Regions from separate parts of the Homo sapiens genome. Here regions 1 and 2 are each linked to region 3. Evidence: promoter capture Hi-C in human tissues and cell types (Jung and others, 2019). All regions are on one chromosome and are shown on one strand. The core of a region is centred on a gene start or on the middle of the fragment in contact, and the rest is flanking DNA. Distances in the headings are between cores, read along the strand shown.

Region 1 (4,127 bases), core at 533-3,032, 740 kb before region 3:
TTTTTTTTTTTTTTGAGATGGAGCTTCCATCTTGTTGCCCAGGCTGGAGTGCAGTGGCGCGACCTCAGCTCACTGCAATCTCCACCTCCTGGGTTCAAGGAATTCTCCTGCCTCAGCCTCCCAAGTAGCTGGGATTACAGACATGCGCCACCACGCCCGGCTAATTTTGTACTTTTAGTAGAGACTGGGTTTCTCCATGTTGGTCAGGCTGGTCGTGAACTCCTAACCTCAGGTGATCTGCCCACCTTGGCCTCCCAAAGTGCTGGGATTACCGGTTTGAGCCACCTCATTTTCTTTCACTGCTGTATCCCCAGCACCTAAAACAGAGTCTAAGGCACATGGTAGACTTAAAAATGTTGTTGTTGGAAAAAAACAAAAAAGTTGTTGAGTAAAAGAACACATGAATACTTGTTCATCATGTTTCAGGGGCTGGAGCTACAATTGTGGGCCGAAACAGGCACGGTTCCTGCCTGATGAAATTCATGATCTGGAGGGATAGATGGGACACCAAATAACTGACTACAGCTTGTGCTAAGCCCAGTGAAGGAAAATGTGTGAGGGCACATAACAGTTGATCCTACTGTGGTGGTGAGGAGCAGAAGTCTTCCTCGGGAAAGTTGAAAGTGTGATCTAAAGGATGCATAGGAGTTAACTACTCTAAAAATTTTAGTTCTTTGACTTTTGGCAAGGTGTAGCACCTTGAACCTTCCCCTCCCCCCCGCCCCGCCCCGCCCCCGAATAAGGCATATGCAGTAGAATTTTGAAGCTTTCTGAACCCCAGGCTCCTTATCTGTAAAGGAAAATAGTGCTAAGCCACAGGTCAGGTACGGGGGAACTGAGTTACAGAGGGTAACTACCACCATTCTTCTCTCATCCTTTAACTCAGGGGTCCCCAACCCTCCGTCCGTGGACTGGTACCAGTCCCTGGCCTGTTAGGAACCGGGCCGCACAGCAGGAGGTGAGCGGCAGGCTAGCGAGCCTCACCGCCTCCTTTCAGGTCAGTGACGGCCTTAGATTCTCATAGGAGCGCGAACCCTATTGTGAACTGCGCACGCGAGGGATCTAGGTTGCACGCTCCTTATGAGAATCTAACTAATACCTGATGATCTGAGGTGGAACAGTTTCATCCCGAAACCATTCCCCACACCTCCGTCAGTGGAAAAATTGTCTTCCACGAAACCGGTCCCTGGTGCCAAAAAGGCTGGGATCGCTGCTTTAACGGACTGACCTCTGAGCAGCTCGCAGGTCCCCGGGGTGTAAGTGATGGTCTTGGGGCGGCGCCGGAACCCAGTTCCTTTGGTCACTACCTCCATCTGCTTCTGTGAAGCCATGGGAGGACTCTGAGGAGGGAAAGACGCAATGACACACCCCCTGTCTCCTGTCCCTAATCTCTGTTCCCCGACGCCCAACACCCCCAGAAGTCTGGAAGCGGGGATCGAGCCAGAGAATGATGCCGCCAGTTAATATTGCGACAGTGCCCAAACCTCCCATCCAGACACACAGATACACACACACAGTCCTCATTCTGACCCAGCGCCTGTGGCAGGGAAGTCTCCTCGGGAGGGAGTGTTAACACAGCCATGGTCACAACAGTACCCACTGAGTGATATGCCAAAATTGAAATTTCACCCTAAGACCCTCTCTGGGTGCTCCCCTCTCCACATAGAAGTGGGCTCCCGGAGGCGGTGACCACTGCTTTACAGCCGCATCCGCACCGGTGCCACGCAGAAATACTGCGCGATCTGGGCTGCTGGAGCTGGCAGCTAGCGCCTCTCGCTACTATAGAAACGCGCACACACCAGTCAGCGCATGCGCACTTTCCCCGCTCTGTCCTGCCTCCCGGAAGTGATTTCCTCTGGGTTACGGCGCAGGCGCAAGATAAGCTAGGAGCCGCGCGAGTCGTAGTGTCGCTGTTTGCGGGTCTCCGCGCGGGACCGGGGCGCAGCGGGGTCGCTGAGGCGAGGGTGTCATGTCAGACAACGAGGACAAGTGAGTGCGGGAGCGGAGTGGCCTTTGCGGCAACCTTGGAAGGGGCGGATGAGGCAAGGCTTGGGTCGGCTGAGGAGCCTGGCGTCTAGGGGCAATGTCTGAGGGGACTGGGGTCCTGAGGGGGCCGGCGGAGCCGAGGAAGGGAAGGGCGGGCGACCCAGGAGCACAGCCCCGGCTGGAGGCACAGGAGGGCCCAGGCTCGAGGGTCCAGAGGGGATCCGTAGAAAAGGTGTCCTTCAGCAAATGTTCCAGCGAGCCGGGCTCTGTATCATGCAGTGGGAATATTGAGGTGAATGAACAATCGTCCCTGCCTCTCCACGTGCTCACTTTCTAGAAAAGGGGTCACAGGCCCATAAGTAAGCAAGCAAGCAGGTAACGGTGGTCGCGTGAGCTTCCCCAGTTCTAGACGTATGTAGTATAGGAGTACTCCAGAGGAGGGTCTGGGGCAGCTCCACCGGGTGGCATTAAATAAAAGTCTGGGACGGTCCTTTGCAGTAATTTTTTTTTTTTTTTGAAACAGAGTCTTGCTCTGTCGCCCAGGCTGGAGTGCAGTGGCGCGATCTCGGCTCACTGCAGCCTCCACCTCCGGGGTTCAAGGGATTCTCCTGCCTCAGCCTCCCGACTAGCTGGGATTATGGGCGTGCACCACCACGCCTTGCTAATTGCTTGTAGTTTTAGTAGAGACGGGTTTCACCATGTTGGCCAGACTGGCCTCGAACTCCTGAGCTTGTGATCCACCCGCCTCGGCCTCCCAAAGTGCTGGGATCACAGGCGTGAGCCACCGTGCCCGGCCTGCTTGTAGTAATCTAGATGAGAGAAGTCAGTAGCTTATAGTAGGGTGGTAGGAGTAGAGGTGGTGAGAACTGGTTTTGAATTCTGGATATATTACTATTTTAAAGATAGAGCCCAAAAATTACCTGTGGGATATGTGGGTGCAAAGAGAGCTAGTCTGAAGATAAAAATAAGAAACGTGTGGGATTGCTACCCCATTCCCAGTGAGTGTCAGTAGAGAAGAGGAGATGACCCGTGGCTGAGCATTAGGGCATTTGGACATTGAGTGCTTGGGGGAAAAGAGAAGCCGGGGAGGTGGGGGAACACCAAGAGGGTGAGGTGTCCTTGGAGTCAAGTGAGGAGAGCAAGTGGCCTAATGTGCCAGCTGATAGATCAGGCTAAATGAGAAGGAGAGTTGGCCATTGGATTTAGCAACGTGGAGATCATTAATGAGCTTGGAAAGTGGTTTTGATGGAGCTGTTGGGGTGAAAGGCTTTTTGGAGTGAGATTATGACAAAATGGGAAGAGAGGAAGATAGTGAGGGTGGACAGCTCTTTCACACATTTTTGCTTCAAAGGACACCATGGAATTAGGGCTATAGGGGGAGAGAGAAGAGAAATAAGGGTTTTTTTTTTTTTTTTTTTAGATGAGGAAAAGCACATGTTGAAATGCTGATGGGGCCGGGTGCTGTGGCTTACACCTCTAATCCCAGCACTTTGGGAGGCCGAGGAGGGTGGATCACCTGAGGCCAGGAGTTCGAGACCAGCCTGGTCAACATGGTGAAACCCCATCTTTACTAAAAATACAAAAATTAGCTGGGCATGGTGGCGTGTGCCTATAATCCCAGCTACTCGGGAGGCTGAGACAGGAGAATTGCTTGAACCCAGGAGGCAGAGGTTGCAGTGAGCCAAGATCACGCCATTGCACTCCATCCTGGACAACAGAGCGAGACTTTGTCTCAAAAAAAAAAAAAATGCTGATGGGAATGATCCAGTAGAGAGGGAAACAGTGATGATGAATGAGTACTAGCAATATTTGGGGGCAGATGGGGAAAAATTGAAGGGGTAAAATGGAACAAAAGTCGGATTTACTTCTTCTTCTTATTATTATTTTTTATTTTTTGAGAAGGAGTCTCGCTGTGTCACCCAGGCTGGAGTGCAGTGGGGTGACCGTGGCTCAGTGCACCCTCCGCCTCTCGGGTTCAAGCAATTCTTGTGCCTCAGCCTCCTGAGTAGCTGGGATTACAGGCGCCCACCACCACACCCGGCTAATTTTTTTGTATTTTTAGCAGAGACGAGATTTCTCCATGTTGGCCAGGCTGGTCTTGGACTCCTGACCTCAAGTGATGCACCCACCTCGGCCTCTCA
Region 2 (4,057 bases), core at 512-3,011, 600 kb before region 3:
GTGGTCTTAGAAGGGGCCCTCTGAGCTCGCAGGGCAGCCCCCTGGGCCGGCCCCGCCTCTGGCCGCTGTCTCCCTCCCGCCCTCTCTTCCCCTCTTTCTGGTGCCAGGGTTCCCACAGGCAGGAAGGGACTTCGGGGGCCACCCCGAGGGTCAGGGGGATGCTCAGGGGCTCGGGTGTCTCCTGGTTCCGGATCCCAGGGGTCCCGGGGAGGCGGAGGGCCGGGCGGGGACACTGACCCGTGCCGTAGAGCATGGCTAGCATGATGGAGGACACCCAGGCCGTGTCGCTGTAGCCGGCGTCGAAGTCGCGCATGAGCGCGCGGAAGAAGACGCTCACGGCTTTGGGGAAGCCGTAGGCGAAGCCGGTGACCACAAAGCAGGCGCCCAGCACCACCCAGCCCCAGCCGCCGTCTGGGGGGCCCTCGCCCCGCCGGGGGCCGCCAGCGCCCATCGCTGCCTCTGTTGGGAGGGGGCGGGGACAAGAGGGAGGGGCTGGGCCAGCAGCCTAGAGAAGGAGGGGGATGGAGACGAAGCATGGGGAAACTGAGGCACAGGGCTACCCACGTGAGGGTGGCTCAGGTCTGGGAACCAAAAGGGGAAACGGAGGTAGGACTCTCACCCCAAGTCTCCTTCTCCTGCAAAGGGCGCTGAAGGACGAGGGGAGGACGACGGGTCCCACCTGACTCTGCACCTCTGCAGGCTCCCTCTGAAGGACAACTGCTGGCCCCTCAGGGCCTCAGGTGGAAGGCGTCGGGAAGTGGAGCAGGTATGTGCCTGGAGGTGGGCGTCCAGCACCAAAGTCGCCCCGTACGCGTGAGGGTCTCGGGACAACAGAACAAACAGCAGAGGGGCAGATGCCGGCTGCAAAGGGCCGCTGTGCGTGATTTTCCTCTTTAGCCTTCCGCCATGTTCCTAATGTTTCTCAGTGATCACAAATGACTATTGTCATTAGAACATTAAGGGGACAAAAGCCACTTTCAACAGATATCAGCCAGGGGAGCTGAGTTCCCATGCATCTCAGCTCAGCCATGGATTCCCTCCCTGACTTGGGCCGGTCGCCTCCCCTCTCCCAACCTCCCTTTCCTCCGATGTAAGATGGGTGATTGATCACCCCGAGGCCAGCTGGGAATCTTGCGGGAGAGGAGTCAGGTCTCTGGCTTCTGCCAGACAGGTAGGAACCTTAGCAGCACTGAGAGAGTGGCCTTCTGCCCTCCAAACCTCAAACCCTCTATATGAAAAGAATGGCTCCAAAGCCTGTCTCATTCCTGGGGCTCCACCCGGGGCCCTCACAGCAGTTACAAGCGCCCCCATAACAGATGAGGAGGGTGTACTCAGAGACAGGTGCACCAGGAGCCGGGGGCTGGGGATAGCCTCCTGCCCTCCTGCCTGGAGTGTCCCTCCTGGCACTGGGCAGTGCCACCACCCCCAGGGTATCCGGGACTCTGCCCCTCCTCCACTAGGACCAGGTTGTGGCTTTTCCTGCCTGTTGTCCTCTTGTCACAGGGGCAGCCACTTGAAGGTGGAGACAGGAGGGTGATCCCAGGCAGCCCTCACATCACACTCACCTGAGCCTGCCTCGTGGGTTTGGGGGTCCAGCCTCACATCTCCTGAGGCCTGCAGGGAGGGGCCGCCGCCGCAGCTCCCGGTGAAGCTTACCCGGATGGGGGCTGCCAGACACCCCAGCTTCCCACCAGCCTGGGCTGAGCCTCTGGCCGACTCCCGCCTGACGCTCCCTGCCCCAGGCCTGGAGCTTAGAGTGTGTGCCCCCACCACACCTCACCCCTGCTAAGAGGCTTTTGTCCAGGAGGGGAGAAGAGACTGGGAGCCCCAGGCCAGGCTGGGCCTCGGCGGTGGGCTCCCTGTCCCAAGCCAGTCCAGGAGGGAGGAAGAGAATCCCTGTGCCTCCTGGAGCCTGGGGTGGTAGACACAGAGACCTTGCCCAGGGGGTCCTAGTCTGGTGCTGGGGGCACAGCCCTGCCCTGAAGAGACCCCAACGGTTCTAATCACCTCAGTGCCTCATCTGCCCCCGCCCCAACCCCCCGCCCCAGGCCACATTCCAGGAGGGGCTGGCAGCTTTCTCTAGAATGAAGCTAATCCACGCCTGTGCCTGGGAATGTGGGGGGGGGAGGGGCCAAAACAAAGGGTGCTGTGTCCAGGCCGCCTGAGGGCAGCTTGCTGGTGGTCCCAGCCCTTGGCCACTGCCACCTCTCCCCTGACCCGAGCAGCCGCTACTTCCTAGGAAACCCACAGGTCGAAATGAGAGCAGGTGGAGATGGGGGCTGCAGCGCGAGGGCTTTGGGGCAGCCCTAAAGAGTTCTCCAAACAAACAAACAAGGGGCTGGGAGTGAGATGGCTTCCCGGGGAACAGCCAGGACCTCAGTACCCCCTAGACCCCATTCTCCAATGGGGGAGTCTCTATCCCTCACCCCCTGCCCTGTCCCCCAAATAAGACACCACCAGTCCTGCTGCCGCATCACTTTGCGTCCACTTCCTTTATTTCTCATCATTTACAAAAGATGTACAGAGAGGGCATGTGTTGGGCACGGAGCAGGTACAAGGGGCTCCTCCCCACGGGGGCAGAAAAGGGGGAAAGAGGTTAGGGGGCAAGAGGTGGGCCCCCCAGGGAGAGTCCTGGAGCCCCTGGAGGGGGAGAAATTGTCCTGTCCCCCCATTCCGCCTGCTTTACTTTGAAGGTCTCGGACCCCAAGCCAGTGCTTTGGAGCTGCTCAGGCTGCCGGGGTGGTCTGGGGAGGGCAGCCACCCCCCGTCTCAGGGACCCGCTTCTTGGATCTGCTGCTGTTGCTGCTGTCGCTGCCATTGCCAGCTCTGAACAGCCCCTGGGCAGGTGCACTGTGGGGTACGACCTCGGACCCCGCCTCAGCGGATGAGGGGTGCTGAGCGGTCATTGGTGATGGTGGGACGAAGCTTGACAGTGGCAAAAGGATTTGTGCCCCTGTAGGAGGAGAGAGAGAATGGGGTGAGAAGGGCAGATGATCCCCACCTGGCCATGGCTCAGGAAGGCAGCTGGGCAACTGAGCTGGGTCCTGCCTCCTGCCCCTATTTGGTCTCCATCCACTCCTTGCCCCGCTTCATCTTTTTTTTTCTTTTAAGAGATAGGGTCTCACAGTGTTGCTCAAGCTGATGTTGAACTGTTGGAATCAAGAGATCCTCCTGCCCCAGTCTCCCTAGTAGCTGGGACTACAAGTGTGTGCCGCCGCACCTGCCACCCTCCTCACTGTTTGGGCCCCCATGTGAGGACTCACCTCGGGAAGAGCTCCTGTGGTGGGTACTGCTCTGAGGACATCAGTTTCTGCAGTGGGGGTGGGGAAGGGCTGGTTTGGTGGGGAGAGGGGCAAGCAATCCCTTGCTCCTCCCCTCCCTCTCCCCATGCCCAAGGGCAGAGGACTGGGCCAGAGAGCCCCTGCCATGCCAGGCTCCTGGAAAATGAGACCCTGACGTTCTGAAGCCCAGAATTCTGTGGGTTGCAGAAGTGAGAAACCCCTAGGCCAGAGCACCACCTCCAAGGACTAACCACGCCCCCAGGATAAGACCGGGGTGGCTCCATCGGAGATGCCCTCCCTGGCCTCCCCCAGCCCCGTCCTACTGGCTAGCCCCAGGCCACACCCTGTCCTGGGACCCTGGTCTTCCCCTTCAGCCCAGACTCAGCCCCACACCACCCCTCCCTGCACTGAGGAACAGACTGAGTGAGGCCAGGTAGGCGGGTCCCCTGCCAGACAGCCGGTGACAGAGCCTCGGGATCCCTGCTCTCCTGCCTCCCTGCCCGCTGGAGGCCCCAAGAGAGGGCGGGCAAGGGCTCACCTTGACGTCAGTGGCAACTGCTGTGCTGCCCATGCTGCTGCGGCGGCTGCTGGGCAAGGGTGGAGGTGCAGGGCTGGGGGCACGGCTTGGCACCCGGCTTGGGGTGCGGGAGCGGGACTGGCCATCCCAGTACTCCGAGGGTGCTATGGAGTTGCCCGGCCGGTCCAGGAGGTCATCGAGGCTGTGGCTGCCCCGGAGTGGGTAGGACCTAAGTCCAGAGAAAGGAGGGGGAAGGAAA
Region 3 (3,966 bases), core at 981-3,480:
AAATCAATGCTGCGAAATGGTAGGGACAACACTGGAGTGAAGAAACCAAGCCACCCCATGGCTGTCCCAGGTTGGCTTTAGCCACATCCTGTTCAGTATCCTCCTCACTTCATACTAGAATATTAGTTAATTTTTCATTATAAAACTCTGCCGGGTGCGGTGGCTCACGCCTGTAATCCCAGCACTTTGGGAGGCCAAGGCGGGCAGATCACTTGAGGTCGGGAGTTTGAGACCAGCCTGACCAACATGGAGAAACCCCATCTCTACTAAAAATACAAAATTAGCCAGGTGTGGTGGCAGGCGCCTGTAATCCCAACTACTTGGGAAGCTGAGGCCTGAGAATCGCTTGAACCAGGAGGTGGAGGTTGCAGTGAGCCGAGATGGTGCCATTGCACTCCAGCCTGGGCAACAAGAGTGAAACTCAGTCTCAAAAACAACAACAAAAAACCTCCACGTATGGCCATAAACCACCCTTAAACCTGGGGATAAGGGTTGGAGACAGCATGCTGTACCGCTGCTAGGGTTTTGGACATGGTTTCCTGAGAGACCTTTATGCTCTGGGTCCTTCAAACCAGTCACATGGGGTTTGTGGGCACTATCTGCAGACCCACTGTTTTCAGACCCAGACAGGATGGAAAGTGGAGGCAGCATCTCTAGGTGAGTCTGGAGCAGCAGTGACAACTCAGCAGAACCTGTGTCAAGTCCTCATAGAAAAGGGAAAATAAGCTAGGATTCCCTCCCCGCTCCACTTTCTCCTCTGTCTCTTAAATAAAACAAGGGTTTGTGACCACTGGCCTTAAGTGCACAGAACTCCTACCTTCCTTGCCCAGGAACAAAACACTGAGTAGTTCTTATAACAGTCCACACGTCTGTCCTATTGCACTGTCAGATCTGAAGGGGAAAAACTTGATGAGATGTTTGGGGAAGTGGCAAGGGCAGACCCACTGTAGAGGCCACAGCACGTCACAGAGGACTGAAGGGGCTGAGGCGAGAGGGAGGTTGGGCAGAACTGTTACACATCGGTCCTCCAACTCTGATGAGCCTCTACCTCTTCTGGTACCACCAGCAGGAGTTCACAGTTCTTTCCTCGCAAATGATGTTTTAGAAACTTCCTATGGAAAAAGAGATAGAGAAAATGAAATGCTGGCAAGTTGCAAATTCCAGTCTCAGGACCACAAAGTCACCTGAAACCTCACTCTACCCTCGGCAGTCCAAAACACATCCCTGTAGTCATCTGGTTTTGGAGGGTTCCACATTTGGTTACCCTCCAATCTGTCCAGTTAAAATTCCAACCTGAATTTTGCTCATCCTTGTAGTTACTGCCAAGAGTAGCTGGATCTGTGAATAACAGTACCCAAAGTATATAAAGGACTTTTTCTTGGTTTGTTTGGAGACGGAGTTTCGCTCTTGTCGCCTGGGCTGGAGTGCAATGGCATGATCTCGGCTCACTGCAACCTCTGCCTCCCAGGTTCAAGTGATTCTCCTGCCTCAGCCTCCTGACCAGCTGGGATTACAGGCGTCCGCCACCACGCCTGGCTAATTTTTGTATTTTTAGTAGAGACAGAGTTTCACCGTGTTGGTCAGGCTGGTCTCGAACTCCTGACCTCAGGTGATCCACCCGCCTTGGCCTCCCAAAGTGCTGAGATTACAGGCGTGAGCAATCGCCTCTAAAGAACTTTTACAAATGTTCTTTGGTCCTGGGGAAATTCAGTGCTCCCTGGCCTGCATGTTTGTCTTCCTTTCTATGAACTGGCAACTACACTGTCTCAGTTGTCTTAAATAGAGAGAACGTTACAATGCCAGCCCCACCAGACTAGAAGGCTGGTATCCCAGGCTGGGCATCTTCCCTACCAAAAGGACTTAAAAGTACTGATGCGCCATTGAAGATTAAGGTCAGGTCCGAGACACTATGATTCTAAGGCAGGGAGAGAATCCAAGGGCACAGGAATTTCATTTCCTTTGTCAAATAACCAGAGATGAGCTCAGTGTCCCCAACCTAAGAAATGAAGCAGCCTAGCAACTTAGTCACAAAAGGTGCCGATTACCTGAGCTCGCTCTCGCCTCCAATCCACTCGGGCATCTTGAGTTTGGAGTCGAGGTTGTAGTAGGCCCCTCCCACCTCTCGAACACAGATCCAGTGCTGCCTTTTGAGGGGCAGTTTCAGTGGACCCCAGCATAGGCTGGAGGGCAGATTCATGATGAAGCCCATGACGTTAGTGAGGGCAATGACACCGACATCCCTGCAGGGGAGAAATGGTGGCAGGCTCTGATGCAGCCCATTTTCCAAGGTTCCCTGGCTGTAATACCACAACTGGCTACCTCCCCACTCATGCCATGAGCCCAAGTACTAAAAGCTTATACCACAACCGTGCTGTTCTCCATCAAGTCAAGCCTGATTCAGATTACCTGCGCTTGTCCCACCAAACAGCTTCATAGCCTTTGGTCTGAAGTGCTGCCATAATGACATTCACATCGTAGTTGCCATTTCCCAGCATGCTCTTCTTGTGAGGTGTCACCATGGTGTTTGGAGACAACCTACCAATGTGAAAAGAGGAGGGCTGAGACTTGCTGGATGCCTGAACCCCCTGACCCCGCACTACCAGGGATGGAGAGCACTTTACATCACTGCCCCTGGAAGTTAGTTTCCCCACATTCAAGTGCAATTTCCCCAGCTTCTACCTAAGTATTTTGTAAGTGTTCCATGAAGGTGACTCACTTATGAAATCCCAGCCTCCTGCAGCCTTTCTGCTCTTCCTCCTGATACTGATTTTCCTGCCTCATGCAAGCCTTTTTTTTTTTTAACATTGGAAAATAGGATTCAATCTTTTCATTTGCATGGATAGTAACTGGTGTCACTCCTGCTTTCTAGTTAAGGCCTGCAAACTTGGTAATCATTAATCATTAAATACTCAAAGGCATACAGGAGCCTAGACAGGTGACATAAATGTATAAACTGGGGTTGGATATAAGGCAATAAAAAGTAGTGAGGCCTACTGGAATGCACGACCCACCTAAAGGCATTCTGTGTGTGTGTGTGTGTGTGTGTGTGTGTGTGTGTAGTACTTGAATAAATTTTTCTTAAAATACCCAATAAATCAACTGAAAAAAAATTTGTGCCAGGCAAACAAAACTCAGCTGCAGCACTGGTTTGCCCACCCAGCTTGAAGCCATTTACTTCCAGGTTTCTTTAGCCAGTCTGTATTTTAAGACAAGGTCCATGCTGAAGGCATTTCTAATTCTATTATTTTACCTTCATAAACTTGTCAGGCCAGGAGCTGGGGAAAGGCCATTTTGAAGGAAGGGTTCAAGGGGCATACCTTTGGGCTTCGTGTGAAGGGGAGAAAGGGAAGTGTGGCGAGTTCCTCAGGACATAAAGTGCATGATCAAGAGGCTACTACATGCCATCTCCAGAAAAGAATCAAGACGTTAGGCCAAGGATGTCAACTCTAAAAAACTTAAGAAATCTTGTATTTTTAAAATTTTTCTGTGCACAGCAGAAATACTGGTATTTTTTTTCTTTCTTTTTTTTTTGAGTCGGAGTCTTGCTCTGTCGCCCAGGCTGGAGTGTGATGGCGCGATCTCAGCCCACTGCAACCTCCGTCTCCTGCGTTCAAGTGATTCTCTTGCCTTAGCCTCCCAAGTAGCTGGGATTACAGGCACCCGCCACCACGCCCACCTAATTTTTGTATTTTTAGTTGAGATGGGGTTTCACTACGTTGGCCAGGCTGGTTGGTCTCGAACTCCTAACCTTGTGATCCACCCGCCTCAGCCTCCCAAAGTGCTGGGATTACAGGTGTGAGCCACTGAACTCAGCAATACTGGTATTTTTCAAATATAAAACATACTCCTGGCCAGGCGCGGTGGCTCATGCTTGTAATTCCGGCACTCTGGGAGGCTGAGGTGGGCAGATCACTTGAGGTCAGGAGTTCAAGACCAGCCTGGGTAACATGGTGAAACCCCGTCTCT

The links. Contacts are between HindIII fragments. The study calls those that stand out against the background at their distance.
Region 1: the fragment with the promoter of C22orf23 here is called in contact with a fragment that was not itself captured in region 3 in 1 of the 25 tissues and cell types used here (dorsolateral prefrontal cortex).
Region 2: a contact is called between the fragment with the promoter of SLC16A8 here and a fragment that was not itself captured in region 3, in 1 of the 25 tissues and cell types used here (dorsolateral prefrontal cortex).

The regions. Positions count from the first base shown.
Region 1 is chr22:37,951,819-37,955,945 of GRCh38, forward strand. C22orf23 (chromosome 22 open reading frame 23) reads right to left here and starts at 1,783. Exons shown (of 7, transcript NM_032561.5): 1 at 1,630-1,783; 2 at 1,229-1,340. The coding sequence starts at 1,331. It overlaps POLR2F (RNA polymerase II, I and III subunit F), which reads left to right and starts at 1,881. Exons shown (of 5, transcript NM_021974.5): 1 at 1,881-1,989. The coding sequence starts at 1,970. RefSeq lists a silencer at 2,047-2,116. The HindIII fragment of the contact is 12,825 bases long and covers 1-4,127 here.
Region 2 is chr22:38,082,423-38,086,479 of GRCh38, forward strand. It overlaps SLC16A8 (solute carrier family 16 member 8), which reads right to left and starts at 1,762. Exons shown (of 6, transcript NM_013356.3): 1 at 1,566-1,762; 2 at 620-939; 3 at 238-459. The coding sequence starts at 451. BAIAP2L2 (BAR/IMD domain containing adaptor protein 2 like 2) reads right to left here. Exons shown (of 14, transcript NM_025045.6): 12 at 3,820-4,027; 13 at 3,264-3,310; 14 at 2,478-2,953. The coding sequence ends at 2,878. RefSeq lists a silencer at 221-270 and enhancers at 1,246-2,027, 3,588-4,057. The HindIII fragment of the contact is 9,296 bases long and covers 1-4,057 here.
Region 3 is chr22:38,686,890-38,690,855 of GRCh38, forward strand. It overlaps JOSD1 (Josephin domain containing 1), which reads right to left. Exons shown (of 5, transcript NM_001360236.2): 3 at 2,407-2,535; 4 at 2,046-2,240; 5 at 1-1,112. The coding sequence ends at 1,013. Among named protein-coding and RNA genes, the nearest start is that of TOMM22, 6.9 kb to the left of the region's middle. The HindIII fragment of the contact is 8,429 bases long and covers 1-3,966 here.